Linked DNA regions of Homo sapiens: regions 2, 3 and 4 are each linked to region 1. Evidence: promoter capture Hi-C in human tissues and cell types (Jung and others, 2019). All regions are on one chromosome and are shown on one strand. The core of a region is centred on a gene start or on the middle of the fragment in contact, and the rest is flanking DNA. Distances in the headings are between cores, read along the strand shown. Region 1 holds the start of ZDHHC20 (zDHHC palmitoyltransferase 20). Region 2 overlaps XPO4 (exportin 4). Region 3 overlaps LINC00367 (long intergenic non-protein coding RNA 367). Region 4 overlaps LOC105370103 (a long non-coding RNA gene).

The links. The method cuts DNA at HindIII sites, captures the fragments that hold promoters and counts their contacts. A contact is called where the count stands out against the background at its distance.
Region 2: a contact is called between a fragment that was not itself captured here and the fragment with the promoter of ZDHHC20 in region 1, in 2 of the 25 tissues and cell types used here (aorta and dorsolateral prefrontal cortex).
Region 3: a contact is called between a fragment that was not itself captured here and the fragment with the promoter of ZDHHC20 in region 1, in 1 of the 25 tissues and cell types used here (hippocampus).
Region 4: a contact is called between a fragment that was not itself captured here and the fragment with the promoter of ZDHHC20 in region 1, in 1 of the 25 tissues and cell types used here (dorsolateral prefrontal cortex).

Annotation. Positions count from the first base shown.
Region 1 is chr13:21,456,446-21,463,592 of GRCh38, forward strand. It overlaps ZDHHC20 (zDHHC palmitoyltransferase 20), which reads right to left and starts at 2,858. Exons shown (of 13, transcript NM_001330059.2): 1 at 2,609-2,858. The coding sequence starts at 2,726. LOC124903131 (a long non-coding RNA gene) reads left to right here and starts at 3,102. Exons shown (of 2, transcript XR_007063713.1): 1 at 3,102-3,734; 2 at 3,938-4,201. RefSeq lists a silencer at 2,771-3,150, an enhancer at 3,014-3,183 and a cis regulatory region at 3,099. The HindIII fragment of the contact is 17,074 bases long and covers 1-7,147 here.
Region 2 is chr13:20,821,327-20,828,520 of GRCh38, forward strand. XPO4 (exportin 4) reads right to left here. Exons shown (of 23, transcript NM_022459.5): 7 at 5,741-5,853; 8 at 806-963; 9 at 378-552. It overlaps LOC124903129 (a long non-coding RNA gene), which reads left to right and starts at 3,618. Exons shown (of 2, transcript XR_007063711.1): 1 at 3,618-3,803; 2 at 5,168-5,528. The HindIII fragment of the contact is 4,182 bases long and covers 1-4,140 here.
Region 3 is chr13:20,937,574-20,945,288 of GRCh38, forward strand. LINC00367 (long intergenic non-protein coding RNA 367) reads right to left here. Exons shown (of 6, transcript NR_104058.1): 3 at 4,769-5,027; 4 at 4,568-4,672; 5 at 2,290-2,362; 6 at 991-1,077. Among named protein-coding and RNA genes, the nearest start is that of LINC00367, 8.0 kb to the right of the region's middle. RefSeq lists enhancers at 2,027-2,526, 5,921-6,497. The HindIII fragment of the contact is 5,625 bases long and covers 2,100-7,715 here.
Region 4 is chr13:20,549,888-20,557,427 of GRCh38, forward strand. It overlaps LOC105370103 (a long non-coding RNA gene), which reads right to left. Exons shown (of 6, transcript XR_941725.3): 5 at 5,915-6,082; 6 at 1,747-2,362. Among named protein-coding and RNA genes, the nearest start is that of IFT88, 13 kb to the right of the region's middle. The HindIII fragment of the contact is 9,762 bases long and covers 366-7,540 here.

The DNA.
Region 1 (7,147 bases), core at 1,608-4,107:
AAAAGTATTAAAACAGCACTTTTAAGTAAAACTCACACTTCCCTCCATTTAAGTCCTCCTATAAAGTAATATATCTATACATATTTCAGTGGGAGGGTCAGTACTTATGAAAACAAATACATACAAGTAGTTTAAAGGATAGTTTTAATATGAGTAAATGCACTTTTATGCTCAACTATTTTATACTCCAGTGACACTGCAGACCTCCCAAATTCTCTCTAGTTAAAATGAGATAACTCAGAAGTTAATACAGCCTCTACATAAGACCTTTCACCACCAAATATTTTAAGATTCTGCCAAGCATCAGGCCATAGTTATAGAATGTTTTAACTTAATGAAATTGTAGGGTATAATCTCTACAGAATGGGCCTCAAGCCTAACTAAGTGATCTCCAAAAATATGCCAACCCCTTTATCCCCCCACACCATTATGGACCAAACAATTACAGTTCCATTGACCCTCATAGCTTACTGAAGTTATATGAAAGAACGGAAAGATGTGGGTCACATTCCAATAATCAATTGTGTGACCTAACCAAAAGGACCTATTCGCTCAGTCTCACGTCCTCCACCTGTAGAGATACCTATGCTGTGACATACTGAAAGAATTAAAGGAGAGGGTGAATGAAATGTCCCCTCTATGCCCACTAGCACATGGCACTTCTCAATTCATGTTCATTTCTCCTTCTTTATTTGAAGTGGTGAAAGAAATCAGAAGCAATTTAAGACTTTTCACAGCACTGTTTGATCTCATTTCTTAATATTTTTGACAAAAACCATCTACAGGTTAAGCTGTGGAATCTCAACATAAATGCACATTTTTAGTGTTCCTTCAGCTTTACTTCAAAACCACTACGGGAATTAAAATACGGTAGGAATAATCTTCTGACAGAATAGGAATGACATAACTTTTAGAATAAATGCCCACTTCAGAGTAAATAAGAAGATAAAGGAGGTATCATCATAAGTTGATGAGAATCCTATGATCACTACCACTTTCTGGAAGTAGCTCCCAGAAATATTAAAATCTAGTAATTTTAATTGACTCAAACATCATTTTTAGTAAACATTCTGGTATCCAAAAGCATGAGACTAAACAATGATATTGAAAAGATTAATATTATTTGGAAATGTATTCCACAACTAATTTATTCTGGGCCTACCTGCAGGGATAGTCGTCCCAAAATTAAACGTTCTATAGGTACAAAGTAATTTTAAAACTGGATGTTTTAATTTCAAAACTTATAAATTTTCTGAGCCAAAGCATTCTCTTCCATGTATAGAACTAGGGTTTTAACCAAATACTTGGTTGAAAGCTGTACAAATCCAAACATAATTGAAGTCTTGATTCTGCCACTTTCAAGAGTGGGTGGTACAGATTCTTCTCATTCATAACATTAGTTTCTAGCTGATGTGGTTCGTTATTCAAAGAACACTTAACAGTCCTTCATAAAATGGTAGATTCAGTCTAAGGACTAAGAGTAGAACATTCTGGAATAACAATAACGTTTACAAACACCACTTACCATTTGGTCCTAGGTTTTCATAAAAAATTGATATAGGCAGCAGATGTATACAGAACACCCTAGTTGAGGCCAGTTTAAGTGTAAAATACCCACATACTCAAAGCCTAAGAACAATTTACTTAAGACAAAACAATGTTGGAGAAATTGCCCAATATCACAAATGTAGCAGTCACCCCTAAACAGTGTTTTTGATTAATGACAACCAATTTCCTTCAATCTTAAAGGCAACCAATTCAAGCCAGTAGGTTAAATCCTTGAAGTATACTGCAATGCTACTCCTTTTTTCCAGGGAATCAGATGAGAATTTTGTGCTAAGAACTTATCAGGAAAATGGAAGTAACGAAAATTAACACGCCAAAATATGAGTATAAGAAATATAAGCCTCCTTAATAATCAGCCAAGAAAAAAATAATCAGGTTATGTCTCCTCCCACCCATTCTTTCTGTCTTAACCTTCTGCAAAAGCCGGCTGGATTCAGAGTAGAAATAAACGAATTTTACAATGAGTCGAGTACCACCAAAAATCAAAAGTGGGAGCTTACTCGTCCTCCAGGTCTGACCCGCCTCCAGCCCGAGGCCACCAAAAGACACACCTCCCTTCCCCCAACCCGCCACAGCCGGCTCTACAGGTAACAGGCGTTTCTTCTCGCGCAGTTTGAACAAAAACAATCCAGAAGGAACAGATTTGGTTTTTTAAAAAAAATGAACAAAAGCCAAAAAAGCCACAAACACAACCTAAACCTTCTAAGAAGCTCGACTACTCCCGTTCTGCACGTTCCTTCCCAGAAGGATGCAGACCCCCGGTGTCGGCGGGAACCAGGAAGCTCTTGGGGCCTCCCTGGGCCAGACCTGCACCCGGGAAGCCGCCGCAAGGCTTCAGGAGCCCCAGGTCGCCCCAAGGCCGCGCCGCAGGATTGAACAAAGCGGCGGGTGCAGCAACCTCGGCGCTTCCGAGCGCGTTCGGGGCCGGACGCCCGGCGTCCGGCGCTGGCTCCAGAAAGGCGGCGGGTGTGGGGCGCAGAGGCCTATCTCGCGCCCTAGCCGCGGCCCGCGCCCCGCCGCAGTCCCCGGGGACGGTACTCACACACGCAGAGCTCCACCACGTACGCGTAGTAGGACCAGACGACCACGAAGGTGATGAAGAGCACCGGCACCCAGCCCACGACGCGCTGGCAGCAGCGCCACAGCGTCCAGGGCGCCATGTTCCGCTGGCGGCTGCCGAGCCCCGCGTCCCACCGTTCTGGGGAGCGCGGGAGCCCCGGCGACGGTGACTCGGACGCTCCAGGCGGCTGCTGGTCCAGCTCCCCCGCCTCCGAGGCAGGACTTGTGGGAGCAAAAGTCCGAGGCGCCGCCGGGACTCCTCCCGTCCCGGCGCCCAGCCAGGCCCCGCCCCCACCCCACATCCCGTCGCCCCCCTCCCCCCGCGTCCGTCCCCGCCAGCCCGCCCGCCGCGGGCCGCGGGCCGCCCCCGGTCTCCGCGTCGTTGGGGCGGGGTTTCCGCGGCCGGGGAGGCGGTGAGGGGGCGGGGCCGCAGCTCGGGACCGCCCATGGGGCGTGGCGGGGCTGGATGCGGACAGGCTGGGCGGACGCGGGAGGCCGGGGAAGGAGAGGCGAAAAACACGCCCTTGATGGATGAGAGGGACAGGGGATAGCTTTTGTGGATCGAGACTCAATAGGGGAGGGAGACTATGGAAATGATTCCTTAGCTGATTTGTGGATCTTGGCCCTCTCTGTGTACAGAACTCGCTCCACTGGGGTTCCTGGGACATTGAGTAGTTGGGGCACTGTTTCAAACATGACAAGGCCATTCCCCACTCAGTGTGCGAAGAATGCACATTGTTAGAAGGCTCCTCCTGTGATTTTTATGTTCGTCCATCTTGGCGGAACCCCTCCCTTTCTTGAAGATGGAACGGTAGATACCTGTAATTTCGGGTAGAAGCCATGTAGGGTCCATCAGTTTGATTCGTAACCCAAATTTAAGATTGAGTAGCGAGAAGGAAAGGGCATGTAAATGACCCTCTCCTTGCCCCGCAAACGACTAAGGAAATTTAAAGAATTTATTTACAACTAGAGGTTGCTAAGCAATGACGATAATCATATAGAACCCAGAAGCATCACTGTGAAGACTTCACAATGCAAGGTCAGACGCATTAGAAGGGATTCCAGACCGCAATCTTCATACCAGTTCCTGCTACTAGCATTCAGTTTTGGTTAGAATGAATTTTTGTGTTTGTTTTTTGAAACAGGGTCTTCTCGCTCTGTCGCCCAAGCTGGAGTGCAGTGGCACGACCTGGGCTCATTTAAGCCTCGACCTCCCTGCTAAAGCACTCCTCCTGCTTCAGCCTGCAGAGTAGCAGGGACTACAGGCCCGCCACCATGCCCAGCTGATGTTTGTATTTTCTGTAAAAACTAGGTTTCGCCCTGTTGCCATGCTGGCCCTGAACTCCAAGGCTCAAGGAATCCCAACCCCTCTCCGCCTCCACCTCCCAAAGAAGTGCTGAGATTACAGGTGTGAGCCACCACGACCGGCCTACACTGAGCTTTAAATTAGCTACTGCTCACTAAAGTCTCCATGAAGAAGACGTCACCCTTTGCTGTGTCAGAGAAATGTAGTAAAAGCGAGTAAGTATTTAATCACTGCACACTGCTGCTTGAGTAATAAAGCATGTATAAAAGATTCTGTTCTCCCTGATTTTGTGCCTTAAAAGTCATATTAGTTAGTGGCCTAGTTGACAGTAGGTTTAGGTTCAAGTTCAACTAGTTTTCCAGAGAGGCTGCTTAGGAGGGTTAGACCTCAACATAGAATTCGGATGGACATGGAAGAACATAAAGCCGTTTCTCCTCTATGTCATCTCTACGTACCAAAACCATGCTGCTAGAGCTCAGCACAAAGCCATGTCCTTTACAAGCTCCAGGGCTGCTAGAAATGATCTTTCACGACATTTTGTTTATAACCTAACTATAAAACTGTCACATTCGTTTCCTAGGGTGACTATAACAAAGTACCACAAAACTGGGGAATAATAGAAATTGGTTGTCTCACAGTTTAGGAGGGTAGGTGTCCCAAATCAAAGTGTTGGCAAGGATATTGGATATGGTTTGGATGTTTGTCCCCTCCAAATCCCATGTTGAAATGTGATCCCAGTGTTGGAGGTGGGACCTGGTGGGAGGTATTGGATCATTAGGGTGGATCCCTCATGAATGGTTTAGTGCCATCCCCTTGGATGAGGGGTTCTTTCTCTAGTAGTTCACATGAGATCTGGTTATTTAAAAGAGCCTGATCCTTCCCCCACTCTCTCTCTTGCCCCCTCTCTTGCCATGTGACATGCTGGCTCCCCTTTGCCTTCTGCCGAGAAGGCAGAAGTCTATCTCTGTGGTCCTGTGTCTTCAGAGATAAGGATGTTCCTTTGTCTGGGTAGAGGGAGGGCACCTCTTGAATAACAGTCTTAGGTCTGCCTTCAGGGGAAGGCCTGAGACGCTTTTGCTAGTGCTATGGCCTGCTTCAGGGGAGAAGAGCGAGAGGAAGGTGAGAGGGACCTTCCTGTTGCTGTTGTCTCCAATGTTGTCTCCAACTGATGATTGGAAGCTTCTTGAGGCCTCACCAGAAGCATATGCTGACCCCATACTTTCTGTACAGCCTGGAGAGCTGTGGGCCAATTAATCCACTTTTCTTTATAAATTACCCAGTCTCAGGTATTCCTTTATATCAGTGCAAGAATGACCTAACACAGCCATGTGCCCTCTGAAACTTGTAGGGGAGAATTCTTCTTTGCTTCTTCCTAGCCTTTGGTGGTGACCATTAGTCCATGGCATCCCTTGACCTGCAGTGGCAGTGGCATCACCCCAATATCTACCGCTATCCTCAGGTGGCATTCTCCTTTCCTGTCTCTCCCCTTATATTGGGTTAAGGGCCTACCCTACTCTAGTATGGCCTCATCTTAACTAATTACATCTACAACAGGCCCACTTCCAAATAAGGCCACATTCTTTTTTTTTTTTTTTTCAGTAGAGTCTTGCTCTGTCACCCAGGTTGGAGTGCGGTCACGTGATCTTGGCTCACTGCAACCTCCACCTCCCAGCTTCAAGTGATTCTCATGCCTCAGCCTCCCGAGTAGCTGGGATTACAGGCGTGCACCACCACGTGAGGCCTGCATTTTGTATTTTTGCTAGAGATGGGGTTTCCCCATGTTGGCCAGGCTGGTCTCAAACTTTTGGAGTCAAGTGATTTGCCTGCCTCGGCCTTCCAAAGTGCTGGGATTACAGGCCTAAGCCACCTCGCTCAGCCAATAGTTTTGATACTCATTGAAATATGTGATCTTGCCTACTACCTTGTAAGGTTCTAGAAGGTAGAAAGTATTTCTTGCACATCCACAGTGACTTGCAGTAGGAAATATTTAGTAAGAAATTGTTGAACAAATATTTAAAGTTTTCTATTGTTATCCAGTTACTCCTCCTAACTTCTGGCGTTGCCAACCAGATTACATTAGCTTGTGATTTCTTTTTTTTCTTTTTCTTTTTTTTTTTTTTGAGACAGAGTCTTGCTGTGTTGCCAGGCTGGAGTGCAGTGGTGCAATCTCAGCTCCCTGCAACCTCCGACTCCCTGGTTCAAGCGATTCTCCTGCCTCAGCCTCCCCAGTAGCTGGGATTACAGGCACACACAACCACGCCCAGCTAATTTTTTGTATTTTTTGTGAGCCACCGTGCCCGACCAGTTTCTGATTTCTAAATGACTGCCACATATTCTAAGGTGATTTATGTGGGATCTAGAGAATATTTCTGATCTATGTCCTTGTACAATGAGGACAGACACATTTTTGAGGAGGCAATATTTTTATTATTTTGGACTCTTTCTGTCGTAAATGGTTACAGACATGAATTAATGTTCTTTGCTTGTGAGCAATAGAAGCCAGTATCTTAAACCCCTTCCTTCCATTTCCATGTTGGGCTTGTGATTTCACTCCATCTTTGCTACTGGTTTTGACAACAGGGAATCATTTAAAGACTTTAGGCAGTGTAGTGACGTGAGCAGAATTACATTTTATAACAATCACTCTGGCTGTGGTAAGAAGAACAGATTGGAGGGAGGAAAGTCTAGAGGCAAGGAAACCAGTTGGGAGGCCGTTGCAGTCGTAGAGCAAGAGATGATGCTAGCCTGACCTTGATTTGTGGCAGTGGAGAAGGTAATAAGAAAGCTACTTAGGGCTGGGTGCGATGGCTCACGCCTGTGGGCCCAGCACTTTGGGAGGCCACAGTGGGCAGATCACCAGGTCAGGAATTTGAGACCAGCCTGTCCAACATGGTAAAACCCCATCTCTACTAAAAATACAAAAAAAAAAAAAAAAAATTAGCTGGGCATGGTGGCGGGGCGCCTGTAATCCCAGCTGCTCCGTAGGCTGAGGCAGGAGAATTGCTTGAGCCTGGGAGGTGGAAGTTGCAGTGAGCTGGGATCACGCCATTGCACTCCAACCTGGGCAACAGAGCAAGACTCTCTCCAAAAAAAAACAAGGAAGCTACTTAGGACTTCAGGCCAGCTTTGATGTACCCACTGTACTCCAAAACATAGCAATGGTAGATAGAAAACAAAAGACAAAGTCAGCCTCAAACCCTCATCCCCAACCTCTAT
Region 2 (7,194 bases), core at 800-3,299, 640 kb before region 1:
ACACGTAATTACACCACACCACAGCAACACCCTGTAAACAATGTTTTTGCTGTTAGAAAGAGCCTTCGACATAATTTTTACATGAAAAATTGTGTTGAACAAACCACAGCTCATTTCATTCCATCTCTTATATTTGGGTACTAAATTATCTCAAAATTAAATGCTTAAGACCAGTAAATATCACCAACTAAAGCTATTTTAATCCACAAATTTTTAAAGGTCATGTTTCCCAAATAATTTGCACATCTAAACAAAACAGTCACTTTAACAATAGCCAGCACTCACTTAAAATAATTACTTGTCATGAGAAATGTTCCAAAGGCACCGCAAATTTCCTTGTGAAAACTGACACAATTTACTTTAGAATAGTCACTCACCACTTCTTCCAATGCAGCACTTCGCCCAAAAGAACAAGTGAGGTGTGTGAGGCAGTTAACAAAGGAGGAGAAAAGTTCACTTGGAATGGCAGTTAAAACATTTCGTGGGAACACGGTTATCAGGTTGCTGATAATGCTGGAGATCCCCACAGCTTCAGAATCTTCTATTTCAATTCTAAAACCAAGGAATGAGTATTATTAAGTGGCAGTAAAAGAAAAATTATTAATATAATAACTCATTTCCAAACAAGCAAATATCGTTACTGATTCATTTTAAAAGGTATGTCTCTGTTTATTAATTTCAAATTACCCATATGACTTTACTTCAAAATATAAGGGGGAAAAAATAACTAGTTTCTTTTTTTCTTCTACTGTTAAACACAAAACGTAGAGCTCCTTTTTCAGCTGCAAAGGGCAAGTATACCTACCCATTGATAGTATTCAGTAATCCCTCAATGAAGTGTGCTAGATAATCAACTTGTGATCCTTCATCTGGGAAGATGGGTCCATGAAGAGAAGCTAACTGGGCAAGGCACTGCAGAGAATCTTGTGCCATATCTGAATCTTCTCTGATTTTTCGATGTACCTGTTAGAAAGAATTACTAATCCATAAATATAAATTCTTCCTTTGTAAGGGTCACGTGTCTACCATGCCGAATGAGGTAAGACAAAAATTCACTGTAGCTGGTTATTTCTAGAAAATTAATTCCTGAATTAAACTAAATTGAAAATTGTCCCTCAGTCCACTTTACATTACAGGTCATTATTTTAAACATATCAATTGATTTTTAACTGAGGGCTACCTACATTTTGAAAATTGATCTGTCTCCAGCATGTTATGACAAAGAGAGAAACAGATGCCAGCCAGTCAGACATACTGCTTCTTCTAAAAACAGCAACAATGACAGTCATCTGTATTATGCTAACTATGCCTAGCTACAGCTTCTTGCTAAACTTAGCAGACAAGTTCAATAAAGAGTATATAGATGCTGCTTTAGTGGAAGTAAACAGTTGTGCACTTAGAAAAGCAATATACCATTGAATCCCTAGACATTCATGCATTCATTCAACCAAAATATAATGAGCACGTTCTTTTATTAATTCTCAGTTTGCTTACAATTTGTTTGAATCTCAGTTTAACCTACATCATTGCTATTAATAAATGCTAAAAGATTTTGAATACCAAATGTAAATTATACTTAAATCCATTTAAAGCTAACCTATATTTTACTTCAGTGATACAATACGGACATGAAACACCTGGTAGAGTGTTTTGTATGAAGGGAATGCTCTTGAAATACTGCTCCCTAGTTTTATAGTATTAATATTCTCAGATGTTAAAGGTTTCATTTCTGTAATCTGACATATTAGAGCCAAGGAAAATTTAGTGAAGGAATATGATCATTATTAATCTTAATCCATCCAACACTTACTGTTGGATGTACCATTTTGTACTTGCCGAAGTACTTAACTAGCCCTTTTCTTTCCCACACAAAGTTCTCTCTCTATTTTGTAAATGTTGTGTAACATCAAACTCATAGTTTTAGGCTATATTCACTTTGACTAGGCAAATTGTTTCTAAATTACTTCAGGTCAGAACATTTAAGTACTCACTGGTATGCTGGGCCACAATGAACACTTAATAAATCCTTGTTCACTGAGTCCCTTAATCCTTAATCTCTGAACTTCTCAAGGTTCTAGTAATGAAATTTAAAACACTAAGTAATCTCTAAACATTACAAAGTTAGTTGATTTACTGACATGCTTAAAATATGCTATACTCTTTGGACTAGAACAAACCACAGCCCATAAGCCAAATTTGGCCCCCGCCTGTTTTTGTATGGCTGTGAGCTAAGAATGGTTGTGTTTTTTTCTTTTTTCCATTTTTGTATGGTTGGGGGGAAACCAATAAAAATAATATTTTGTGACCTGTGGAAATTACACAGAATTCTTTTTTTTTCCCCCGAAACAGAGTTTCACTCTTGTTGCCCAGGCTGGAGTGCAATGGTGCAATCTCAGCTCATAGCAACCTCCGCCTCCCGGGTTCAAGCAATTCTCCTGCCTCAGTCTCCTGAGTAGCTGGGATTACAGGCACGTGCCACGGCGCCTGGCTAATTTTTGTATTTTTAGTAGAGACGGGGTTTCGCCATGTTGGCCAGGCTGGTCTCAAACTCCTGACCTCAGGTGATCCACCGGCCTTGGCCTCCCAAAGTGCTGGGATTACAGGCATGAGCCACCACGCCCGGCCAACATTCACATTTTAATGACCATCAATAAGCTTTACTGGAACACCGCCGTGCTTATTTATGTATCATCTATGGCTGCTTCTGTACTACAATGGCAGTGTTGAATATGAACATATGACCTGCAAAGCCTAAAGTGTTTACTATCTGGCCCTATACAAAAAATGTCTGCAAATCCTTGGTCTAAAATACAAATATTTTTCAAACTATATTCCAATGTATTTTAAGTTTTATATAGTAAATTCCAAGTACAATAGACAAATTCATATATGCACACTGTCTAGTTCATAAACTTCTGAACACAACTCACTCTTATAAGTTCTTTATCCGAAATCTGTAATTAAATTTTTGTCACGATGCCTTAGAATCTAATCAGCATTTAAGCATGATATCCAGGGATATATTCTGTCAACAGATAGAATGTAATCTGGGACAATAAGAATACATCTCACAATCTTGAATGTTCATTATGGTCTCGAAGCGAGCAATCAGAAGAAAGAATACCCTCAATGAAATAGCTAATGAAATAACTAAAAATAAAGTTAAAATAAATAAATAACTGTCTTTCGAGACGGTGTGTGCTGTTCAAGCTTAATTTATGTTACCTGAAATATAAACCACATAAAACTAATAATAAATGCTTAATTTTTATACAATATAAATTCTTGCCTTTCTTCCAATGTCATCATTACAAAAGAGTTCCTCCATATCTGAACATGTATTTCAATATAAACTGTATCATAAAACGGAAAGCTGAATCACCACCTGAATATGGAAAAGGGACAGAGGGATAAGGGAAAGCAAAGCCCAGCAGGACGCCCAGTGAGATGAATGGCAAGGATATGCATCAAGAAAAGGAAGACAAGGAAGGAGAAGCAAGTAAGGAAGATGACGAATTCTACTGGAACATGTTAAATCTGAGATGTCTGTTGGCCATCCAAATTAAAACATCCAGTAAGCACTGGGATTATAAGGCTCTGAAACTCTGGAGCAGGCTGTGCTGAATATAGATGTAGGAGTCATCTGGGAACCGGTGCCTGAAGTCCTACGTGTCAAAGAGAGAGCCACAGGAAAGTGTACAGAGTCAGCAAAGTTGAGAACTAAGATAGGAATGCCAATATTTATGTGATGAGCAAAGAAGGAAGAGACCATAAGCGAGATCAAGAAGACTCTGGTCAAAAAGGTAGGAAGAAAACACAATGAAAGTGGGTTTTTTTTCCAAGACCTTATAGAAGGAAAAAAAATCAAGAAGTTTGTAAACTTCTATAGGGCAGAATGCAACCCAAAGTATTCCAACATATTTAAAGTCTTATGATTAACATATTTAAAGTCTTGCTCTTATGCAACAGTATACTGATGCTTATCCAAATCTAGCACAAGTGATATCCAGTGGAAAAGTGCTTTAAAGTAGGCAATAAATTCATATAACTAAAACTAAATTTAACCAAAGTTAAATAAAAAGATTAGCCATTGTCATTTTTAAAACAAGTAACAAACTTGTTCATAAACTGCTTAAGTGAAAATAGCTACAAACACAAAAATTGTTCAAATAAAGCAAAAAAGGGTTAACTTTCAAATTCAAGTTATTTGCGTGTGGTTGTTCACAGCTGACAGGAGCAGCTGTCTGGTTTGTCTAGACAGCTGTTCAGATCTGGTAGAGTTGTTTCCAGTACTGCCAGCAAGTTTTTCACCTTTTCAAAAACTGCTGGAGTGGAATCTACTTTCAGTCAAGTGCATAATACAAAGACTTGGACTTGGATTCGTATCAAAACAATTCCTGTCAGATGAGGCAGGCAACGGAATTTTAAAATTTAGTTACAATTATCTCTTTGATCTTGATAGTGGTTTTAGCCATCATTTCTCTGATTTTAAAAAGAAACCACAAGGTGATTTAATGCTCAGTCTGAATATTTCTATAGAAAATATCCTTTATATATACCCATGGATAGATAACCTTGTTCTAGATATTTTAAAATACATACCACATAACTACTTTATTTTAAATGGTTCAATCAGAAAAAGGCAGTTGAAGGGCTCATCTATATTTTTACAACAAATGAAAAGAAACTAAAATTAACAATTGGGATTAAGCAAAATAGCTTTTTTACTTTTAATTGATTTTTACTTGGGCTTCTGTCCACGTCATTATATCTAATTAACTTGTATATTCCCCCTATAACTGCAAATTAGCATCCAACACATAAACACACACATATGAATTGTTTTTCCAGCTTTTGACCGTTTTATTGGGGATACACACTGGCCAATGTGGGAACATACTGCTTACATCTTGATATTTAGCCAATAATAAAGAGGACTGTCTAAAGTTATACATGAGATAAACTGCTATTCCATAATACCAACTTAACCAATGACTCATAAATATAATAAGTATAAAACCTACACTCTAGAATAGCAGTTCTCAAACTATGGCCCAGGGATCCCTGAAGCTTTTTAAAAGCCTGTCAGGTTGCCTGTGAGGAAAAAAACTATTTGCATAATAATATGAAGACAGTATCTGCGTTTCCCATTCTCACTGTCACACAGGTAAAAAGTGGAATTTCCCCGAGGCCACACGATGTGCGATACTGCAACTAACTGAAGGCAGAAGCAGGTAAGATAATCTGACTGTCTTCTATTAAGTCTGATATTATAGATTTACAAAAATGCAAAACAATGCTATTCTTCTCATTAAACTTGCTTCGTTTTCAAAAATATAGTTAATTAAAATGTTACTTATGTTAATATGTAATCGTTTCTTACTGTTACTTTTTAGCACATTATTTTGTAAAGTTTTGTTTGAATTTTTAACAGGACAAATATAACCTATATAAAGAAAAGCTCTTTGGAGTTCTCAATAAATTTTTAAGAGTATAGAGGGGTCCTGAAATTAAAAGTTTGAGAACTTCTGCTGCAGGATATTAAGCCCTTCATAACCATGTGACATTTTTATAAATTAGCAAGAACCTTTTAAAATAATTTCTGTTTAAGCAGCCATACTGATGAGAAGACAAGACTTTAGGGGAGAAAAGCAATCTGTTCTGTTTTACTTAAGAAACTCGCCAAGGCATTTCCTCTTTTCTATGGCTCTTGCTACCAGAGATGAAGACTAAAACTTACTGTGAAGAAAAGCTCCATAACTCTGCTGTCCAGAAGAGTCTCCCGCCAGGACTCTGTTGGCTTCAACAGCACATTTTGCGAGGATTCAAACATAGCTATATAATGTCTGCCCAGTTATTTGGTGTCAAGGTCAACAACAATAACATTCTTACTTTGTCTAAAGTATAAGTATATCCTAAATATAACAGGAGCCATCTAGAAAGAATTTGTAATGGTAACAGTTTAAGCCTCTTCACATATGCTACATAATTCATCCATGAAGCTAAGGAATAGAAGGCATTAAGTGCCTGGGGAAAAAAAGAATGTTACAGGAATGTAAGGTAATGCTTTCATTGTAATTATGTGTCATGCTGTAGGCATACAGAAACTTTGAGAACCAGAGAATTTAATGGTGGCAACAGAAGGAAATACACTTACTGCAAAGCATATGCCAAAATTCATGTAAAAAGAATCAATTTCTGCAAGTTTATCCCATCATTTCCCCCAATATCTTGCAACAATTAACACCACATATACAAAATGTGAGTTTCATATAGTCTACTTGGAAAAATAGCATTTTTCCAGAAGAAATATATTCACTGGAAAAGCAAAAGAACAAAAAGAGTAAACACATATAATATTAAAGAAAAAAAACTCCCACAGGTCACAGTATCTAAATATCAAGACAAAGAAATAATCTATTGACAAAAAACTTTATAGATGCTTATTTAAAATTCCCACAGACTAAAAAGCAATTTATATGGTGTTCAGGCATTCAATTTCAAACATGCTTCAAACAGAATACTGTTTTACCATAAACAAAGTAACCATCATATATTTGTAGGTTTTTATGAATACGATTCATTGATACTGCCACAGTAACTGAGGCTTTGAAGAAATGAGAAAACTCGGCCAGTCACGGTGGCTCACGCCTGTAATCTCCACATTTTGGGAGGCCAAGGCAGGCGGATCACCTGAGGTCAGGAGTTCGAGACCAGCCTGGCCAACATGGTGAAACCCATCTCTACTAAAAATACAAAAATTAGCTGGGCATGGTGGCAGGCACCTGTAATCCCAGCTATTTGGGAGGCTGAGGCGGGAGAGTCGCTTGAAAACACTCTCCCGCAGAGGTTGCAGTGAGCCGAGATCACACCATTGCACTCCAGCCTGGGTGGCAGGGAGAGGCTCTGTCTCAAAACAAACAAACAAACAAAAAACAGTGGTTATGCCCCTTCCATTGGTAATCAATTGCCCAGCTAAAATACTTCGACTATGCAACATTCACATCACTCAATGAGAAATCTTAATGATAATCACCCAGAGCTATCGTCTGAAAAAAGTAGATAGAAATTCAAATACTATATTTTGAGTAAAGTCTAAATCGTTATTTTTACAGAAAAATTATTATTCACAGGGAAAATTAAAGGCTGTAATAATGCTCTGGAAACTTTTTTTTAAGATAATTGCTTAACCCC
Region 3 (7,715 bases), core at 3,662-6,161, 520 kb before region 1:
GAGTTTTAGTGACAGGGAAAATGATTACTATAGGTGTCTGTTCACTGTGTTTTCAAAGTGTCCTAAATTTTCTTTTTTTTTTTTTTTTTGAGACGGAGTCTCGATCTGTTGCCCAGGCTGGAGTGCAGTGGCGTGATCTCGACTCACTGCAAGCTCCGCCTCCCAGGTTCATGCCATTCTCCTGCCTCAGCCTCTCCGAGTTGCTGGGACTACAGGCGCCCACCACCACACCCGGCTAATTTTTTATATTTTTAGTAGAGATGGGGTTTCACCATGGTCTCGATCTCCTGACCTCGTGATCTGCCCGCCTCCACCTCCCAAAGTGCTGGGATTACAAGCGTGAGCCACCGCACCCAGACTTTTTTTTTTTTTTTTTTTTTAATTATTTATTTATTTTTTTCTTTTTTTATTTTTTTGAGACGGAGTCTCGCTCTGTCACCCAGGCTGGAGTGCAGTGGTGTGATCATAGCTCACTGTAGCCTTGACCTCTCTGGCTCAAGAGATTCTCCTGCCTTGGCTTCCCAAGTAGCTGGGACTACAGAGGCACATCACCACATCTGGCTAATTTTTAAATTTTTTTGTAAAGACAGGGGTCTCACTTTGTTGCCCGGGCTGGTCTCAAACTTCTGGGCTCAAGTGATCATCCACACACCTCGGCCTCCCAAAGTGCTGGGATTACAGGTGTGAGCCACTGTGCCTCACCTCAATTTTGTAGGATTTTTGTAGGATTTTGATTCCAATCTTTTCTCTGCCACTTATCATTTGTGTGCCCTGAGTGAGTTCCCGTCATCTCGGTATGTCTGTTTTTCATCTGTGCAATAGGGGTCACAGTACCTACCTCATGCTGGGTTTGAGATCTCCGTGTGCCACATATTAGCTTGGGACCTTGGGCTGATTAGTTGTCCTCTCTGAGCCTCAGCTCCCAAGCCAGGAGGTGGAGCTAATGTGGCTGCCTCCAGGCATTAGCACGAAGATGGGCAGGGATGGCTCTGAGCACCCAGCACAGAGCAAGACCCCTTCACCCGGTAGACACCTGGCAGACGGGAATTACCACTGCTTATGATACAATGGTATTTCCTAAATTTGAAGATAATGTTGAAAGTAAGCTGCATCATGGATTTAATAATAGTGCTTTGAGTGAGAGAGAGAGAGAAAAAAGAAACCAATGTGGCATTCAGTGCATAAGAATAAAATGAGGTGTTGAATAAAAAGACTTGGGCCGGGCGTGGTGGCTCATGCCTGTAAATCCCAACACTTTGGGAGGCCGAGGTGGGTGGATTACCTGAGGTCAGGGGTTTGAGACCAGCCTGGCCAACATGGTGAAACCCCGTCTCTACTAAAAATATAAAAATTAGCCAAGCATGGTGGCGTGCGCCTGTAGTCCCAGCTACTCAGGAGGCTGAGACAAGAGAATCGTGTGAACCCACAAGGCGGAGGCTGCAGTGAGTCGAGATTGCCCCACTGCACTCACTCCACCCTGGGTGACAGAGTGAGACTCAAAGAAAAAAAAGTCGAATTTTTATACACATCCGTTAGGGACTTTTCACATCATGTGCATTTCCATAAATCTACACATTGTATTTTTGCACAGACTTGTGTTTCTAGGTGTGTCTGGGGCTCCAGGATTCTCTTACAGGAGACGACTGTTCAACTTGTTTTTAAATGAAAACACTAATGTTTCGTTTTATTTTTTTCCCTGCATGAAAAGTAACAATCCACCATAAAGCAAGGGGCATGCCCCCCGACCAAGCCATCCTTGCTCAGGGGTAGAGAGTAACCCTTTGCGGGGAGTGGGTGATAGTGCTAAGATTTGGGTTCTGGTTTTAAGGAGTTATCTAAAGTTTAGTTCTGAAAGAAGACGCAAAGGGGATTTCTCATGGAGGAATGCAAGCCTATGGGACAGAAGGCGATGAGTCAGGAATCGTTGGATTGGGTCACCAAAAGCCTGGGTCCTGATCCAGGATGCTTGTCCCAAAAGGGGCCCCACATACTTGATTAAGAAGGAAAGAGTGAGACCACTGTGAGGGGCAACAGTCAAGGATGGGGGGCAGAAGGGGTCTTTGAATCTGAAGCCCACCAGGGGCTGACTGTCCAGCTTTGATGTGAGCAAGAGCCCCTTTGAGGAGCTGCCCAGGCTAGTTCCTTCCACAGTGGCTCAAAGACAGGAGTGCCTGATCTGCTGCCGACTGGCTGGGAGACTGAGATTTGTTGCAGGCCAACTAGTGCATGTGACCCAGTGTCAGATATATCCCCAAAATATCCCTGGCAAGTGGCGGGATGATCTCCTACCCCTTCGCTTGAGCAGGCCGGAGGCCAGGAGCTGAGACTCCTCATTCTCCATTTCTGTTTACCTTCTCCCCAGCTGGGAACAAAGGACAAGAATTTGGGAGTGACAGGCATGTGGCCACACACTCAAATGCACTTGTTTATACCTGTTTGTTTACTGTTTCAGCAGATTCTTGCTTAGCAATAACTGAGTTTATCTCCTTGTCTTAAGGAAACTCTTAAGAATGTTATTATAATGTAGTAAAATTTAAATGTCTCTTGAATGATGAAGCACTAACTAATGTGCTATATCTAAATGTAGAAATGCACATTTACGAGTATTGTCCTCTCCCGGCATTTTCATCTGAACACTCAGTCTGTTGACAACACTCAAAAACTTCATAAAAGATCACAATCTAGCACTTAAGTTCTACAGATAATGTTGAAATCTTGCACAAGATTTAGGAATCTCAGGCAATGACATGCATAACATTGCTATTAGGAAATGTGTAATATACTCTTCTGTTACTATCAGTGGAAAGTCAAAAAACAAACAAACCATAGTGATAAGAGCTGTGTGAATTAAGGAATTTTAGAGCTGAAAGTGACCTTCGAAATCCTAGAGCCTCACCCATTTTTACCTTCTAATAATCGTGCTGTAAAATATCACACTTACACTGTAGAAAATTTGGAAATATACAGAAGATGTTTAAAATTAGGAAGAAAAGGCTGGGCACCGTGGCTCATGCCTGTAATCCCCGCACTTTCGGAGGCTGAGGTGGGCAGATCACAAGGTCAAGAGATCGAGACCAGCCTGGCCAACATGGTGAAACCCAGTCTCTACTAAAAATACAAAAAATTAGCTGGGCGTGGTGGCGCGCGCCACTGCAATCTGACCTAGCGACAGACTGAGACTCAGTCTCAAAAAAAAAAAAAAATCAGGAAGAAAAAAATCACCCACAATTGTATCACCTACAAGAGGTCACCATTTTTTAAAACTTTGCCGTATTTCCTTTCAGACATGTAAAATTTTTGATATATTTATTTTTTTCTTTTTCTTGCTACAAAAAACTGAGATCGTACAGTTTGTATCCTTCACCCTTTACTTAACATTATATAGTGATAATTTTGCTTTTTATTAAAAACTTTTTGAATATGGAATTTTTATTGATTACATAAAATGTGACAGTATGGCATAGAGTCATAAAATATTTGTAACCGTCATCATAGTATTGAATGTGTAATTGCGTTTAAAGATACTATAGTATAGATGTGCTAAGGGAAATACTTTTGTGCATAACTGTTTGTCCCATTTTTAAATTGTTTCTGTAGAAATTGTTGCCAAATTTTGTTCCAGCCAGGTGCGGTGGCTCGCACCTGTAATCCCAGTACTTTGGGAGGCCGAGGTGGGTGGATCACTTGATGTCAGGAGTTCAAGACCAGCCTGGCCAACATGGTGAAACCCTCTCTCTATTAAAAATACAAAAAATTAGCTGGGCATGGTGGTGCGTACCTGTAATCCCAGCTACTCGGGAGGCTGAGGCAGGAGAATTGCTTGAATCCAGGAGGCAGAGGTTGCAGTGAGCAGAGATCTCACCACTGCACTCTAGCCTAGGCAACAGAGGGAGACTCCATCTCAAAAAACAAAACCAAACAAAAAAACAAAACAAAACAAAATTTTGTTCCAGAAAAGTTATAACAATTTTTATCAACAACATGAGAGTGTCTATTTCAGTGTAACCTTTCTAGAATCAGAGTATTACTTTTTTTTTTTGAGGCAGAGTCTGGCTCTGTCGCCCAGGCTGGAATGCAGTGGGGTAGTCTTGGCTCACCGCAACTTCCGCCTCCTGGGTTCAAGCAATTCTCTGCCTCAGCCTCCTGAGTAGCTGGGATTACAGGCACCTGCCACCACGCCCGGCTAATTTTTTGTATTTTTAGTAGAGACAGGGCTTCACCATCTTGGCCAAGCCGGCCTTGAACTCCTTACCTCAGGATCCACTGGCCTCGGCCTCCCAAAGTACTGGGATTACAGGTGTGAGCCACCATGCCTGGTCGAGTATTACCATTTTTAATAATGGTAATGGGTAATATAAAATAATGTTATTTTAGGAAACAATTCTAAAGCTTCATTTTCAGGAGACTGAGATTTTAGAAGCTACTTCTTTAATTCTTATGACATAGAGTCGGATTAGACACAAAATAAATGTTATGAAAATGCTACTACTGTTCTTTGAAGGCTGTTTATAGTTTGTAGATGCTGAGAATATGGTGAAATGGTAAACTATGCATAGCCTTAACTTACGGAGTGCTAGAGTTTTGGGCTGAGGAGCTGGTCACCATTGGGCATCTGACAACTGATTGTTTGGGCTTCTGGGACTGTTTCTGGAGGGGCCTGGATCTCAGCACACTGTGTCAGGTAGGAGAGGAAAAAAACGTTATCTGTTTGCTCCTAAGCTCATTGGTTGAAGATTCGCCCCACAAGCTTCAATTTCTCTGCACTTACTTTTTTCTCTGACTTATTGTGGGTTTCTCAAGCATAGGGGCCAGGGGTCCTGTGAGGTGGGTGCCATTTGGGATGCCACATGGAGCTGGCAGTGTCCACAGACAGCTGGTTTCTGCAGTGGCAGCAGGGTGGAGTAAGCGTCCAACGGTGTCCAAAGATTTGGAGTGGTACTTAAGAGGTGTTTACACGAGCAACAAGGTAAGTAGAGATAACTGGGCCTTCAATACAGAGGTTGATGGAAACACATCTGCAAGTGTACCTGATTCAAATCATCACACAGTAACCCCTCCAGGGGAATGTCAAATTCTGTACTGTTTTTAATGCTCAGCTGACACATTGCTCTAGTCCAGTGGTTCTAGAACTTTTTGAGCTTAGGATCCCTTTATACTCTTAAAAATTATTGAGAACTTCAGACAAATTCATATATATGAAGTGAGGGGACAGAAAGGAGGTATATCTATATCCATATCTATCTATCTATCAATATTTATCATATTAAAAATTAAAATGGAAAAAAATAAAGAATATTTATAGATGGAAAAGTGGCCATTATAAACCAATTACATGTTAACACAAATAATGTGTTTTATGCAAAATAACTATATTTCCCAAAATAACAGTTAGTGGCATCAGTGGCATTGGTTTACATTTTGCAAACCTCTTGAATAGCGGGTTTAATATCAGATAGTGGAATTCTCTTTTTTTTTTTTTTTGAGACATTGTCTCGCTCTGTTGCCCAGACTGGAGTGCAGTGGTGCAATCTCAGCTCACTGCGACCTCTGCCTCCCGGGTTCATGCGATTCTCGCGCCTCAGGCTTCCGAGTAGCTGGGATTTATAGGCGTGCGCCACCATGCCCAGCTAATTTTTTGTATTTTTCGTCGAGACGGGGTTTCACCATGTTGGCCAGGCTGCTCTTGAACTCCTGACCTCGAGTGATCTGCCCACCTCGGCCTCCCAAAATGCTGAGATTACAGGCGTGAGCCATCGCATCCGGTCGCAGATGGTGGAGTTTTTATTTCTGCTTCCACATTTGACCTGTTACCATATGTTTTGTTTGAAGTAGATGGGGAAGTCCAGCACCCCCCAGGTATACAATTGAAAAGGGGGACTTCGTGTGTCCCTGAAGTCCACAGACCACACTTTGAGAACTGCTGCTCAAGTCTAAGTTGCGAATTTCTCAATTACATGAACAAGACTCTAGCGGAAACCAGTACTGTGTGCGCTCAACAGACTAAATTGTTTGGAAAAGCGTTTCCTAGGAGTTGCTATAAACCAAATGACTCATTTAAACGTTTTTATTACTTTGACAAATACTTCGGCTCTGCAGCCTGTTCCTTTTTTAAACCAACTTGCCTCATTACACAGCTGTGGTCTGCACAGCTTTGGCCACCAGGTGGCTCCCACCCCCAGCCTTTTCTAGAAGGATCCATTCAGGACGCTTCATTCCTTGATGGCGCCCTAGCTGCTCAGGGCACTCAGGGAAACTTTATTTTGTTCAACATAAGAAAAGAGTCAGTTGTGGGAGGCCGACGCAGGCGGATCAACTGAGGTCAGGAGTTTGAGACCAGCCTGGCCAACCTGGCAAAACTCCGTCTCTACTAAAAATACAAAAATTAGCCGGGCATAATGGCGGGCACGTGTAATCCCAGCTACTTGGGAGGCTGAGGCAGGAGAGCTGCTTGAACCTCAAAGGCAGGGGTAGCAGTGAGCCGAGATCATGCCACTGCACTCCAGCCTGGGCGACAGAGGAAGACTCCATCTCAACAACAACAACAAAAAAAAAAAAAAAAAAAAAAAAAGAGGAGAAAAGAGTCAGTTGGGTAAGGGGAGGATTATTTCAAGGAAAAGGGAAGTTAAGAAAGAATAGAACTGGCAGTGCGTGGTGGCTCACGCCTGTAATCCCAGCACTTTGGGAGGCCGAGGCGGGTCTAACACGAGGTCAGGAGTTCGAGACCAGCACAGCCAAGATGGTGAAACCCCCTTCTCCACTAAAAATACAAAAATTAGCCGGGCATGGCAGCAGGTACCTGTAATCCCAGCTGCTCAGGAGGCTGAGGCAGAGAATTGCTTGAACTCGGGAGGCGGAGGTTGCAGTGAGTCGAGATTGCTCCACCGCACTCCAGCCTGGGCGAAAGAGTGAGACTCCGTCTCAAAAAAAAAAAAAGTATATTTAACATAGGAGGTTGGTAAAAAAAATCTAAAAGAGTTGGTCTGAATACTGGAAGAAGTACTATATGGCACCTTTACTCTCTTACCAGCTTAATGTAGCTTTTTCCTTCTCATTGTTTTTAACTGATATGCTTAAATTGGGTATTATTATCTCTACTAAAATGGTTCTCTCTCAAAGCAAGGTGTTATACTAGATACCACGTGGGATAAACAAAGAGGTGGTGGGGAATGCGCCCCTCCACCCTGAGAGACAGGAGGTGTGGGTGTTTTCACTCTAGCACATATTCACTGTGACACTGTGGGGTTACTTCTGTTTCCTAACCTGAGTGATCCACCCCACTTACAAGAGAGGGCTGATAATCCTTAACTGTCCAGAGGTTTGTTTCCAAATCAGATTGTCTCTGGAGTTCCTTGCGAGACTCGAAATACACGATTCTGTGATTCTATTTCAGTCTGGTTGAGTTCTTTAGTTGCAAGCAACAGATAACCAACTTGGTTAATCTTGCCCAGTTTCCTTAATAAGACTCATACGGCCCTTCGCTACCTGGGCCCTGCCTGTGCCTCCAGCCTCAAATCTTCTTCAGGCACTGTGAAGCTCCAGACATATGGCGACATCCCCCACACCATGTGTGCCCCTTCTCCGGCCTCTGCTGCCTAATAGTAGGTTTCAGGTAGGCATCACTTCCGCTGGGCTGCCTTCCATGACCTCCCCAGTCTGGATCGCGTCCTCTCCTGGGTGCTCCAGCAGCAGCTTCCTCCACTTCTCCATCATACCTT
Region 4 (7,540 bases), core at 3,997-6,496, 900 kb before region 1:
AAACTCAGCTCAAAGAAATCAGCCCACCTTGGCCTCCCAAAGTGCTGGGATTACAGGCGTGAGCCACTGTGCCTGGCTCAATATATATTATTGATCATTCTTTTTTTTTCTTTACTTATTAAACTGCATTGGTTCACTTTCACTAATAGTCTGGATTTGATTTTATACAGCCCTAGAGCCAATGGTAGTCCATTTCATACCTTTGTGTAAATCAGAGAAAGGTACTTCTTCATCAAGACATTGTACTCTCCTCTACAGAAAATTGTCATAATGTATTGTTTTTTGGTTTTTTTTTTTGAGACAGAGTCTTGCTCTGTCACCAGGCTGGAGTGCAGTGGTACGATCTCAACTCACTGCAACCTCTGCCTCCTGGGTTCAAGCGATTCTCCTGCCTCAGCCTCCCAAGTAGCTAGGACTACAGGCGTGCGTCACCACACCCGGCTAATTTTTCTATTTTTAGTAGAGATGGGGTTTCACCATGTTGGTTGGCCAGGATGGTCTCGATCTCTTGACCTCGTGATCTGCCCACCTCAGCCTCCCAAAGTGCTGGGATTACAGGTGTGAGCCACCTGGCCTGGCCCCTTGATTTTTTTTAAGAACAAGATACTTTGTGTGGGAGACTGCCACAGTTACTACTTGAGACCATCGCTACAACAGTTACTACTGTTACTACTTGAGACAGTTACTACTGTTACTACTTGAGACAGTTACTACTGTTACTACTTGAGACAGTTACTACTGTTACTACTTGAGACCGTCTTTATGAGACTGAAAGAAGGGATGAACGTGGAAATGAAAACTTAAGACAAAAGTAACTGTTTTAAAGGAAGGGTCCAGGGGAAGAAGAAGAGAGCTCCCTGCTTCTAGTGAGCAAAGGCAGCCTCGAGCTTCTTCAGCCCTTCATATTTATTGGGTATAAAGAGCAGGGAGGAGGAGGTAGATTGGTCAGCTGCTTAATTGATCACAGGTTCACATTATTGCTAACAGGATTCAGTTGTGCCTAATCACAAGAAACACTCGTGCCTGGGTTGTGACTGCCCTCAGCATTCCTACTGGGCGGCAGGCACAGTTTGTCAGTTTACCAACATCCTGCTTTCACGAGAACAGTTTGCTGTTTGCTCATATAGCCGCCAGTGGTGCACTGAGTTGACCACGACCCTCATTCTTTCAGCCTCCAACAACTTTACTGCCATCTTCTGGAAAATTGTTTTTATTTTTGTTATAAGTACCAAATCTGTGATGTATATAATGTGAGCAACACCTCCTTAAATGTGTCCTTGTGCAGTGCACAACCCACAACCTATACAACCATATGTCACAGAGGCTATGATGTGTATGATATTGTCTAGGGAAACTGATGTGCTTGAGTATAACTATGTCCAGAGAGATAGTAGGTTCTTGTCAGAAAATTAGGGTTTCATAACCACTTATAATTACTGTAGCTTTTTCCCAAATTACTTCCAACTTCACTTACAGAAAATGTCACTTATGGATTTTATCTTTGTCTAGATTCAGGATTCTAGGGGTGGTAGGAGGATGAGTAAGAGGAAGGGAGATGGAGATCCTGAATTTGAGAAATCTACAAAAATTAGAAGCTGAGAAGCTAAATCAACAAGCATGTAGACTTGCTGAAGGAAACAGGCCAATTAAGATCTTCACCCTGGATGACCCCTTGACTTTCTTCACTGGGGTTTCAGAGAAAGTATTTAGATGCCCGTTTCAAAGTCATTACTGGATAAAGACACATTTGCAATGAAAAAGAAAGATTTTATTTGCCTTTTCTTCTCACAGTTCAATAATTTTGCATATAAGACTTGGTTTTAAAAATACAAAATGATGATTCTCAAAGTAAATGAACCACCTCAAAAAGACAAAAACCTACCATCTTCCGAAAGAACTCTCACTTTCCTCGGCATTAAACACACTCAAACCAGTGGAATCAATGGGAAACTAACAATGTTTTTGCAGAGTGACATCCCATTAGTCACAAGGGGAATTTTGAAAAGCACACGTAAGCATAACATTAATTCATTTCCCAGCATTCTGTATTGTAGTAGCCTAGAGATTTAAAAGAAATTACCTCACTTGTCTTTAAAAACTACACTCTACCTTTGAACAATTAGCAGATTGGGCACCAACTGCTCCTGCCCCGTGCAGTTGAACACTTGCCTATAAGTGACCCGCACGCAGTTCAAACTCATGTTGTTCAGAGGTCAGCTGTATGATCAGGTCACTAATGAGTCTTCAGACCATGTTTTGGGGCTTACAAACAAAGATAGTTCATTCAAAAAATTTTTTAAATGGTGTAGTCAGGTGATCTTAATAGTCTCTCCATCCTTGCAGCACTGTCCAACAGAACTGTCTGCAATAAAGGAAATGTTCTATGTCACATTCTCCAACACAGTAGCCACTATTCCTGTGTGGCAGTTGAGCACCTGGATGTGGCTAGTGTGACTGAAGAAATGAATTATTATTATTATTATTATTATTATTATTATTATTATTATTATTTAGACAGAGTCTCACTCTGTTGCCCAGGCTGGAGTGCAGTGGTGTGATCTTGGCTCACTGCAGCCTACGCCTCCTGGGTTAAAGCGATTCTCCTGCCTCAGCCTCCTGAGTAGCTGGGATTACAGGCATCCACCACCACGCCTGGCTAATTTTTATATTTTTGATAGAGATGAGGTTTCACTCTGTTGGCCAGGCTGATCTCAAACTCCTGACCTCAGGTGATCCACCTGCCTTGGCCTCCCAAAGTGCTGGGATTACAGGTGTGAGCCACCATTCTCGGCCTGAAGTTTTAATTTGATTTAATTTTGAAAAGCACACATAAGTATAACATTAATCAGAATTATTTTTAATTTAATTTACATTAATTTTTTTATAGAGACAGATCTCACTATGTTGTTCAGGCTGGTCTCCAACTCCCGGCCTCAAGTGATCCTCCTGCCTCAGCTACTCAAAATGCTGGAATTACAGGCATAAGCCACCACACCTGGCCTTCCATTTAATTTTAAACAGCCACGGCTAGTGGCTACTGTGTTAGGTGCGCAGCTTGCATATGCTCTCGTATCTGCCAGGAATGCCTTCCTTCTGGCTTATCCATTTGTGAAACTCCTACAAATGAATGGATGGATGAAGGAATGAGTGAACTTGTTACTGTTAGACCCTGTATAGAGCTGACGTGGATCAACAAAGATAATTAATGCTGAAAACATAATGCACTTAATTTCACTGTTTCTTGTCATCAAATATCTTTGTACAATATTTATTTGGTTTACTTGAGTGCTTGTTTTTTAGTGATTTTGGATGCTGAACAAGGGAGAGTTGACTTTGGGTTGGAAAGAACTTACTGGTTTCTTTTCAAGCCACATTCCAGCCTTCACTGATCCTACTTTCAAGTTGAAAAGCTAAATTCATATCTGTTATTATGAAACCAATTTAATTACTGACTCAAGCAAGTAGAAAAAATGACATGTTATACTATGGAATAAGGCTTTTTATAAGCCAGCTCTTCTGAAAGCAGCAAAAGAAAAGCCAAAGTGATGGAAATTTACTTTGCACACAGACTGCACAAACGCCCTTTTAGAAATCAGCTTTGGTGTGCATGAAAGCCTGGCTGTAACAACAGCGCAGTGTGTGAGTTCATGAACCAGCCAGCCTGTGCTGCTTTGTAAGGAAACCTTTCACAGGGCCCCACTTTGCTCCAGGCACAAGCAGGGTCATGTGGGCTGCAATTAGAGCATGCCACAGGCCAGCTTTTTACTATTTTCCATCCATAAAAGCGGCTTGTATGTTTATTAGAGTATTTTTCCACTTTTCTTTCTTCCCTCTGCTCCACTCCCTTCTGTTTTAATCAGTGATCTCTGAATACAGACTACCTTAAATCTAGAGTATTCTACTGATTCTTAAAAGTGAGACGTGACTGGGCACGGTGGCTCACGCCTGTAATCCCAGCACTTTGGGAGGCCGAGGCGGATGGATCACAAGGTCAAGAGATTGAGACCATCCTGGCCAACATGGTGAAACCCTGTCTCTACTAAAAATAGAAAAATTAGCTGGGCATGGTAGTGCACGCCTGTAGTCCCATCTTCAGGAGGCCGAAGCAGGAGAATCTCTTGAACCTAGGAGGTGAAGTTTGCAGTGAGCTGAGATCACACCATTGCACTCCAGCCTGGGCGACAGAGCGAGACTCTGTCTCAAAAAAAAAAAAAGTGAGACGTTTGTGTGAAGAGAAATCTTACTTTTGAACCTGAACTAAAATATAAATAAATACTAAGGAGCTCCCCCTTAACAATAGTTAAGATTCCATTCATTGTGAACATTGTCAAACTAGCAGGCAATAAAACGCTAGGGTGGGCCAGGTGCGGTGGCTCACGCCTGTAATCCCAGCACTTTGGGAGGCCGGGGTGGGTGGATCACAAGGTCAGGAGATTGAGACCATCCTGGCTAACATGGTGAAACCCCATCTCTACTAAAAATACAAAAAATTAGCTGGGCGTGGTGGCGGGTTACCCTGTAGTCCCAGTTACTTGGGAGGCTGAGGCAGGAGAATGGTGTGAACCTGGGAGGCAGAGCTTGCAGTGAGCTGAAATCATGCCACTGCACTCCAGCCTGGGCAACAGAGTGAGACTCCGTTCCCCCCTCCCCCAAAAAAAAGAAAAGAAAAGAAAAAAAAAAAACCGCTAGGGTGTAGTACCCAAAAGAAAGTAGATGAGGTCAAGGACTCAAAAGAAGGTAGATGAGGTCAAGGACCCAAAAGAAGGTAGATGAGGTCAAGGACTCAAAAGCAGCTACAGTGGGAAAGGCTATGCCCACCCCCTCCTTTTGCAGGTGACAAGACACAGTCCTAGAGAAGGGACCTGCCCAAAGTCACGCAATAATTCAGTAGCCATATCAGAGGAAGAGTCAGAGTCCCTGACTGAGAAAGGTAAGCTTTCCTTGGCCTTGGTCCTCAGGTTTTCCCACTAAAAAAGCCCTGTGGTGAAGGAGGATGAACGTGTTTCCCTTCTTGGGTCAGGAGACCTCTTCCAAACTTAGTATTTCACTGATAACAGTGTTTTTAAAATCTGCCTATTTTGTTTTTGTTGTTGTTAGAAGTTTTATAATTTATTTATTATTTTTTAAATAATTTCAACTTTTATTTTAGATTCAGTGGGTACGTATGCAGGTTTGTGATGTGAGTATATTGCATCATGCTGAGGTTTGGGGTACAGCTGATCCTGTCACCCAGGTAGTGAGCACAGTACCCACTAGTTAGTTTTTAAATCCATGTCCCCCCCTCCCCATTTTCTTTCTTTCTTTCTTTCTTTTTTGAGATGGAGTCTCACTCTGTCGCCCAGGCTGGAGTGCAGTGGCCCAGTCTCGGCTGACTGCAACCTCTGCCTCCTGGATTCAAGCGATTCTTCTGCCTCAGCCTCCTGAGCAGCTGAAACTATAGGCATTCGCCACCATGCCTGGCTAATTTTTGTATTTTTTGGTAGAGACAGGTTTTCGTCATGTTGCCCAGGCTGGTCTCGAACTCCTGAGCTCAGGCAATCTGCCCGTCTTGGCCTCCCAAAGTGCTGAGATTACAGGTGTGACTCACCACACCCGGCCCTTCTTTTTATTATTAAAACATCTAAGACCAGAGAGAAAATGTATTCTACACATCCATGGGGGAATGCAAGAAATATAAGGCATGACCCCTGTCTCCAAAACCTTACAATGATAATATTAGTGATTATGATAATGATGACAGTAGCGATGTCATCCAAGAGGTGGGAGGCAATGCAGACTTGAGTCTTTCTAAAATGATTGTGAGGGTACCATAATCGGGAATAAGTGGAAACCACGGAGGTGCCATTACACTGAAATAAGCACTTCACACTCACAGAGAAGACCGCCTCTTGACAAACCATAGAGATACACTTACACTCCAGATCCCAGGTCGCTCCAGAGCCCACAGACTGCTTTCCTGACGGAGACCGGATTCTTAGGGCCTCATCCCCAGAACTGAAGTTCTCTGGGTCAGATCAGATTCCTTGCTTGACAGTAAACCTTTCTCCGAACCTCATCTTTGCTCCCAAAGTCTTTATCTCTCCTTAACAGAAGAAAATAAGGTTAGAAAGGCAGGCGAAGTTCTTGGGAGGCCGAGACGGGCAGATCATTTGAGGTCAGGAGTTCGAGAGCAGTCTAGCCAACGTGGTGAAACCCCATCTCTACTAAAAATACAACAATTAACCGGCCATGGTGGCACACGCCTGTAGTCCCAGCTACTCGGGAGGCTGAGATGGGAGAATTGCTTTAACCCAGGAGGCAGAGGTTGCAGTAAGCCATTGCACTCCAGCCTGGGTGACAGAGCGAGACTCTGTCTCAAAAAAAAAAAAAAAAAAAAAAAAAAAAAGGCAGGGGAGGTTCACGATATGGAGAGTTTGAATGCAGGTAAGTAGCTGCAAAATCATGGCAAAACTGATAGGAATAGAAACTGAAGTTTGCTTATACCCAAAAAACAGTAAACTCAACACAATTGTTAGAAATTCCTCTGAAATATCCTGTTTAAAAAAATTTTTTTAGAGGCAAGGTCTTGCTCTGTCACCCAGGCCGGAGTGGAGTGGTGTGATTATAGGTCACTGCAGCTTCATACTCCTGGGTTCAAGTGATCCCCCCTGCCTCAGCCTCCCTAGTAGCTGGTACCGCAGTTGCACACCACCAAACTTAGCTAATTTTTTTTTTTTTTGAGACAGTCTTGCTCTGTCGCCCAGGCTGGAGTGCAGTGGCATGATCTTGGCTTACTGCAGCCTCCACTTCCCAGGTTGAAGCAATTCTTTAGCCTCAGCCTCCCGAGTAGCTGGGATTACAGGCGTCCACTACCGCACCTGGCTAATTTTTTGGGTATTTTTAGTAGAGACGGGGTTTCATCATGTTGCCCAGGCTTGTCTCAAACTCCTGACCTCAAGTGATCCACCCGTCTCAGCCTCCCAAAGGTAGGATTATAGGCGTGAGCCACCACACCTGGCCTCAGCTAATTTTTTAATTTTTAATTTTGTTTATTTTTTTGTAGAGACAGGGTTTTCCTATGTTGTCCAGGCTGGTCTTGAATTCCTGAGCTCAAGCAATTCTCTTGCCTCGGCCTCCCAAAGCACTGGGATTATAGACATGAGCTACTATGCCCACCCAACTGAGAGACTTGTTTTTTACTGAATCATCATCTCTGCATGGAAAATTAAAAAGAAAATGGAAGACATAACAAGTATGTGGATAATTCTAAATGTTTACATAAGTCAACTAAACTATTGGGTTATTCTTTGTTGTAGACATTAAGAATTTTCAGTAGTAATAAGGCTGGGAGCATGACTGTGGCATTTTAAAACCAGATTTAAGTGGAAAGAATGATCCAAGACAAAAATCAAGATTAAACAAAGAAAGAAGAGGCAAAAGCAACCAACTGCTTTGCACTAACTGTATGACTGCGTTACTTTACCATTAGAAGGCCAGGAGCTTGGCTTTTTCATCCTTTAAGTCACGAATGGTGCTAAGTCATTATCTATCTTACCTAGTT